Linked DNA regions of Homo sapiens: region 2 is linked to region 1. The links are contacts of gene promoters, found by promoter capture Hi-C in human tissues and cell types (Jung and others, 2019). All regions are on one chromosome and are shown on one strand. The core of a region is centred on a gene start or on the middle of the fragment in contact, and the rest is flanking DNA. Distances in the headings are between cores, read along the strand shown. Region 1 holds the start of C3orf22 (chromosome 3 open reading frame 22). Region 2 overlaps UROC1 (urocanate hydratase 1).

Evidence for each region. The method cuts DNA at HindIII sites, captures the fragments that hold promoters and counts their contacts. A contact is called where the count stands out against the background at its distance.
Region 2: a fragment that was not itself captured here is called in contact with the fragment with the promoter of C3orf22 in region 1 in 4 of the 25 tissues and cell types used here (H1 embryonic stem cells, aorta, heart right ventricle and 1 more).

The regions. Positions count from the first base shown.
Region 1 is chr3:126,556,982-126,560,652 of GRCh38, forward strand. C3orf22 (chromosome 3 open reading frame 22) reads right to left here and starts at 1,951. Exons shown (of 4, transcript NM_152533.3): 1 at 1,646-1,951. It overlaps LOC105374090 (a long non-coding RNA gene), which reads left to right and starts at 2,032. Exons shown (of 3, transcript XR_924455.2): 1 at 2,032-2,208. The HindIII fragment of the contact is 13,796 bases long and covers 1-3,671 here.
Region 2 is chr3:126,501,118-126,504,788 of GRCh38, forward strand. It overlaps UROC1 (urocanate hydratase 1), which reads right to left. Exons shown (of 20, transcript NM_144639.3): 9 at 2,878-2,966; 10 at 101-163. Among named protein-coding and RNA genes, the nearest start is that of UROC1, 15 kb to the right of the region's middle. The HindIII fragment of the contact is 6,165 bases long and covers 1-3,671 here.

The DNA of each region.
Region 1 (3,671 bases), core at 701-3,200:
ACATACAGACACATAGACACATACACACAGACCCACACAAACTCACATACACATACACAGATTCACATACACAGACTCACACATTCACACACAGATTCACACACACACAGATTCACACTCACACACAGACACATACAGACACTCTTACAGACTCACACTCAGACCTGACCTCATACACACCCCCACACACAGGCAGGTGGCCATCTGGGTGTGGCTGGCCTCAGCTCTGTCCCTATCCTCTGCTGCGTGACCTGGGAGCTCCTCGCTTCCTTGGTCCAAGGCAGAGGCTGCCCCCACCAGCCCATAACGCACCTTGCTTCCCTTCCCAATTCAAAGCAGCTGGCGTGACCTACTACCACACCTGGCATGATTCAAAATCCGATGATGTCTGGAGAGGAGCCCCTGGGGAACACGGGTAGCCCTTTCCAAATCTGGGATTCCGGAGTCCTCCAAAAGCCGGTGGGCTCGGGCAAGACTGCTCGGCAGTGATCCCATAATGTGCCATGCTGCTCATCCATCCCTCTGAGGGCGGGGTACTGGGCTAGCTGGGAGGCTGCCTGCCGCCAAGTGTGGAATCACTCAAGGCCCGAGGCGGGAGGCTGCACACTGGACACTGAACACAGGCCACTGGGACCATGGCCATGGCATGGGAGACCAGCCTGTCTGTGAGCCAGAACACACCCGCTCACCCACCGCCTCCGTGCCCCATCTCTGACTCTGGAAGATCAGCCATCCAGAGGGCCTTTGCCCTGGCCCAGAAATACTGCCAGCCCTGCTCACGACCTGTCCCTTGCCCGCACCAAGAAGTCCCTGGGCCCTGAAGGGCAGGCTTCCCCACTGACTTGCCCACTAGTCTAGTACAGGGTGCAGCTCTCTACACCAGTGCTGGCTAAAGGGGGTCTTGGTGGCCTCCGCCCCTGCAGCCCTGGCTGTTCTGAGGACTCTGGGATGCCTTCGCTGGGCCTAAGCCCACAGTCCTGCAGCCACAGCCTGGGCCAGGCCCCAGCTCAGCCCCTTCCTGTCAGGTGCACTTGGGTGAGTCACCTCCAGCCCAGGCTCAACCCTGAGGAGTGCGGGGCAGGGGAAGCCTGGGCCGGGACAGGCAGCAGGGCCACAGCAGGAGGCTGCAGAATGGTGCCTGTGGCCTCTAAGTGTCTGCTACATTCTATGCATAACCTCACTTCATTTTTTTTCTACCTGATGGAGAACGTATTATGCTCACCCCCATAATTCAAGTGAGGAAACTGAGGCTCCGGAAAGTTAACTGATTTGCCTGCATTCACACAGTGAGTCGGGGAAGAGGTTCAGGATGGGTGGCCTGTGCTCCTCCTGCTGGGCCATGCAGCCTCAAACAGTCCTGAACCGGGGAAGCAGCATTACCACAGGAATTGAGGGATCAAGGGAGACAGGAGCGCCCCTCAGCCCCACCCCATACCCTCCCACCTGACCCCTAGGTCATGGAGATGACCCTGTAAGCTGACTGCTGAATCTGCCCCACAGGGACAGGGCTGCTGCAGAGTCCAGGGCTGCCCTCTGCCATCATGACCCTGTCCCAGGCTCTTCTCCGCCACCCTGTTGCTGCTTCCCAAGTCCCTAACCGACTTGGGGACTGTCCTTTCCAGCCACACAGGCTGCTAGCACTCACCAGGCAGCTACCTTGAATTCTGGCAGTGACGATGATCAGGTGTGATCAGAGAGTCCTGGAACTGCTCCTATCCAGCAAGATGCTGGTGTGAGAGCCGCTGTGGCCCCCGAGGCTGGCAGGGCCCTGGCTACAGCCCTCTCTGGAAAGACCCAGTCCCAGGCTATGCCCAGAGCTTCCAGCCAGAAAGGACAAGCTGCAGGACCCTGTGGGCTGGCTTATGTGACGCCAGGCAGACTGAAGCTGGCCATGGTCCCAGCTGCCACATTACCACAGGAACAGCAGCCCCAGGGTCCCCGGACAGGCAGTGCCAACAAGCTCACTGCAAGGTCAGAAGCCCTTGAGGTCACAATTGGTGACATCACAGCTGCTGACCCATGAGGCTCAGACTCCAGCCTGAAGCCCCTCTGGCCCAGGGAGTGACTGCAAAGTCAGCAGCACATGGGCCAGGGCTGGCCAGCCTCTCAGCTCCACGCACCCAGACAGAAGCATCCACATCTGCACTCTTCATAGCAGAGACCTCTCCCTGTTCAGGTTCTGCATACAGAAGAGACGCCCAGAAATAGGTACAGACACTGAGGCTGCAGAAAAGCTGTTTCTGTGGAGGAGTGGACACCAGGTTGCAGGGGGTTGAGGAAGGAGAAGGCAGTGAAGGAGCTGAACTGGAAGTGGTTCAGCCGTTCACCTGTGCCACTGTCTACTGTACCCTACGACTTTTCACTTATTAGTGCTGTTCACCTGTGCCACTGTCTGCTATACCCTACGGCTTTTTACTTATTAGTGCTAACAGGGTTTTTATGGATTATTTAGGGTTTTCTATATGCCATCTGTGAACGGAGGTAACTTCACTTCTTCCTTTCCAATTCGAATGCTTTATATTTCCTTTTCTTGCTTAGTTGCTCTGGCTAGAACTTCCAGTACTGTGTTAAATAGAACTGGGGAAGGTGGGCATCCTTGTCTCCTTCTTGATCTTAGAGAAAAAGTTTCCAGTTTTTCACTATACAGTATGGTGTTGGCTGTGGGATTTTTGGATATATTGCCTTTATCATGTTAAGGAGTTGAGTGTTTTTATCATGAAAGAGTGTTCAATTTTGTCAAGCGTGTTTTCCACATCAATTGAAATGATCATGTCTTTTCCTCCTCATTCTAATAATGTAGTGTAGTACATTGATATTTTCATTATGAAAAAATAATCCTTACATTCTAGGGATAAATATTACTTGTTAATAGTGTGTAACACTTTTAATATGCTGATGAATTTCATTTACTAATATTTCATTGAGGATTTTTGCATGTGTATTCATAAGGGATATTGGCCCCTAGTTTTCCTTTCTTGTAGGGTCTTTGTCTGACTTTGGTATTAGGGCAATGCTGGCCTCACAGAATGAGTTAGGAAATGGTCCCACCTCTTCAACTTTTAGAAAAACTTTGAAAAACATTTATGTATGTTCTTTAGTAAGTGTTTGTTAGAATTCACGAGTGATATCATGTGGCCCAGGGCTTTTCTTCGTTACTGATTCAATCTCTTTACTAGTTATGAGTCTATTCATATTTTCTATTTCTCCCTGATTCAGTCTTGTTGGTTTTTTTTTTTTTTGTTTCTAGAAATTTGTCCATTTTATCTAGGTTATCCAATTTGTTGGCGTGACATTTTTTGGCGTATTCTTTCATAATCCTTTTTATTTCTGTATGGTCAGTAGTAATACCTCCCACTTTCCTTTCTTATTTTACTAATTTGAGTCTTTTTCTTTCCTTAGTCAATCTAGCTAAAGCTTTGTTAATTTTGATCACTTCAAAAATCGCCTTTTGGTTTTGTTGATTTTCTCCATTGTTTTTCCATTCTCGACTTGATTTATCTTTAACCTTCATTATTTCCTTACTTCTGCTAGCTCTGGATTTAGTCTGCTCTTCGTTTTCTAATTCCTTAAATTGTGTAGTTAGATCATTAATTTGGGATCCTTCTTATTTTTAAGATGTAGACATTAATAGCTACAAGTTTCCCTCTTAGCACTGCTTTCTCTGCATACCA
Region 2 (3,671 bases), core at 873-3,372, 56 kb before region 1:
AGCTTTGTGTCCTGGCAGCTCCTGGTCAGCATTGAGGTCTTTGCTCAGGGGGCCCCATCTGGGTTCCCAAGCTGGCCATCAACTCCCAACCCCCACTCACCAAAGAGCCACCACGTTGCCATGGTAACCAAGGCTGAGCACCTCCTTTTTTTTCCTTGCTTCCCTGGAAGGACACAAAAGCAGAACAGGTGCCCCCTGCACCTGTGCATAGGTGCCCCAGACACACCTGCACCCCAGCTGCACACAGGGGCAGACCCAGGAGGCCACCAGAGGTGTTGTGTGCAAACGTGGGGGCCATGGGGCTGGGCCATGAAGCATGCCTGCAGGACCCCGACTTTTGTCCAGGACACAAAACTATAAAGGGAAAATCCAGACCCAAATTCCCCAGACCAGAAAACCCACATGGCAGTGGCAAAACTGCCTGGGCGATCCATGGAATTCGGGTTATTGATGTGGGTCCTCCACAGGGATCTTTACAGAACCCACCCAAGGTGGTCCCAGAGTTGCAGGATTCACTAAAGATGATTCCCAAAATTATTCGGAAAAATAGGACAGGAAAAATCAAAGCATATTTTGGGAAACAGAAGATTTGAACAGGCCTTGCAGGTAGTAGAGATATCAAAAAGCAGCAATGCACAGGGAAGGTGGTATGGTCCCCATGAAAGAGCAGATTGAATGCTTACCAGGAGTGGCCTGGAGAAGCCCGAGGGAGCCAGGCACCTCCCCTCCCCCAGGGGTGCAAGGTTGACAAAGCAGGAAAGGACACACAGTCCCAGGGCAGCAGGGAGGCCGGCCCAGCCCAGGGCTTGTTGCAATCCCAGCTGAAGGACCCTGTGGGAACCGTGAGCAGAGCTCACTCCATTCCCATGGGTCTTCCTCAGCTCGGGGGTTGCGGAAGTGTGGCAGACAGGTTGCTCGAGACAGTTCCTTAAACTGATTTTGATGTATGTGTATGTGTGTGTGTTCATGTGTGGATGTGCATGCATTTGTACATATATATGTATATATGCGTGTATATGCATATGTGTATGTATGCATGTGAGAATATATGTTATGGGCATGTGCGTGTGTGTGTTGCGTGTGTTTGTGTGTGTGTCTGTGTGTGTTTATGGTGTGTGCATGTGTCTGTGTGTTTATGTGTGTGTGCGCCTGTGTGTTTATGTGTTTGTGTGTGCTGTGTGTCTCTGTGCATGTTTATGCATGTGTGCATGTGTGTTGTGTGCGTTTGTGTGTTTGTGTTACATGCATGTTTGTGTACATGTGTTTACATGTGTTTATGTGTTGTGTGTGCATGTATGTGTGTTATGTGTTTGTGTTTATTATGTATATGTGCATTGTGTGTTGTGTGTGCATGTGTGTGCATACGTATTGTGTTTATGCATGTTAGTGTGTATGCATGTGTGTGTTATGTCTGTATTTATGTTTGTGCATGAGTTATGTGTTTATGCATGTTTGTGTTTGTGTGTGCATGTGTGTATGTCTGTGTCTGTATTTATGTGTATGTGTGTGTTTATGTGTGTGCATGTGTGCACTCTGTGTGTGCCTGTGTGTGCATGCATGTGTTGTGTGTCTGTTTATGTGTGTGTCTATGTATGTGTTGTGTGTTATGTGTCTGTTTATGTGCATGCATGTGTATGTTGTGTGTGTTTGTGTGTGCAAGTATGTGTGCATGTGTGTGCTGTGTTCTCTGTGTATGTGTGCTTATGTGTGTTAAGTGTGTTCATGTGTGTTACATGTGTGTTGTGTGTTTGTGTGTGCAAGCTTGTGTGCATGTGTGTGCTGCATTCTCTGTGTATGTATGTGCATGTGTGTGTTGTGTGTTTATGTGTGTGTTATATGTGTGTTTATGTATGTGGGTGTGTCTGTGTGGTTATATGTGTGTGCATGCATGTTGTGTGTGTTTATGTGTGTGCGTTTATGTGTGTGTGTGTGTACATGCACACACTCAGGATGCTAAACAGCCTGAATAGGGATGGGAGTTAGGTCGGGGAAGCCCCTCACAGCACACCTGGAGTGTGGAATTTCTTCTATCATTGATGAAAAATTATCTGAGAGTTCTAAAGAGGGTGCAATGTGGTTGGATTGGTATGTTAGAATGATAGGTCAAAATAGTTCACTGCATCGTTTCTCAAATTTTGTTTACATTTTCATCAGAAACAGCTTTTAAGCCCCTGTGGAGATTCTAGTTGAAGCCAGGTGGGCAACCACTGCACCGATGTGTCTTCCCGTAACAGGACTCTGCTCTGGGCAGTAAATTAATTGAGAGGATGCTTCAAAAGTGGCATCCGAGCAGGAGCCCCCAAGGCAGTCTTCCCACCATCCCACTGAAATACCTCTGAAGACTTTGCCTAGGGTTGAGGCGGAGAAACCCACCGACTGCCCCTCAGCACCGTGGGCGAAGCTCTGCCCTGGAGCACAGGGAGGGAGTGCACGCCTCACAGGCTCGCCACTGCAACAGCGCAGGGCAGCCCCTATCAGGCCGGGTGGCTCTGCGAGCCCACACAGCAGGGAAAAGAAGATTCATGCTTCGCAGAACCAGGTAAGAGCATGGGAGCCCCAAGAAGGCTACCTGAAGCCCATCAAGGCCAAGTGTCTGACACCAAGCCCACAGCCCAGTGGCTGCAGCCGGCAATGACGGAATGTTGGAGGCCCTTCCAGAGGCTTCTGCCCTATCACCACCCGCGGGTCAGCCCTTGTGTGCGTGTGTGTGTGTGTGCGCATGTATATGTACATGTGCATGTATGTGTGGTGCCCACATGTAGCCAGCTGTCAGGCATTAAACAGGCCCACACCAAGCTGCCCCATGGGGGTCCTCTTGTGGTCTCCTGCTGCCACGTGTCAGGTGTCAGGTGTCCGGAGTTGAGCTTGGAGCTGTACCTGAGCCTCTGGATGCAGCGGTCCAAGCTGTCAGTCACTTCCATCAGCCAGCCCTGCCTGTGGCGTTTCTCAAGGGCTGCTTTATCCACCTGGGGCCATGAGACATGGGGCCACGAGACATGGGGCCACCCGGTTACAAATCTTCCCTAAGTGTATCATCCTCAACTAGGAAGGTGTCATCCCCTGTAGGTCCCTTGCTTTTCTATAACACAGTCTCAGGGAAGACACCATGAGCTGCCCTCCCTCTATTTATTCCTTCTCCCACCTCCCTTATAAGCAGAACCCAGGTAGTGTTCAGGGTGACACGGTTCAGCCCCAGGAGATGGTCTACGTCCAAGCTAATCACAAGGACTTGTCCACGATCTCCATCCTCCCTTGCAGATAAGAACATCGATTTCAACTAAGACTGACCAATGAGATAAAAGGAGAGGGTTTGGAGACATGACTTTCCTGAAAAAATAGAGTCATAGCAGACACTTCCCTTCTCACCTCTTCCTGCCTTGAACATGGATAGGATGGCTAGGGTAGGGGCAGCCATTGTTTCTACAAGGGAAGCCCAAAGGAATCAAGAGATATTAACATCATTGAGCTGCCAAACCAATGCCAACACTGTTGGTTACGTGAGAAAAATAAAACCCTATTTACACAAGCCGCTGTAGGTAGGTTTCTTGTTACCTGCAGCTTGGTGCACTCCTAACAAGCACAGGTACGTATGATGTAGGTTTGGCATCAACTGAGTGCAAATCCCACTGGCACATATCGCCAAGCCTTGCCTCAAGGCTCCTTGCCTCCTC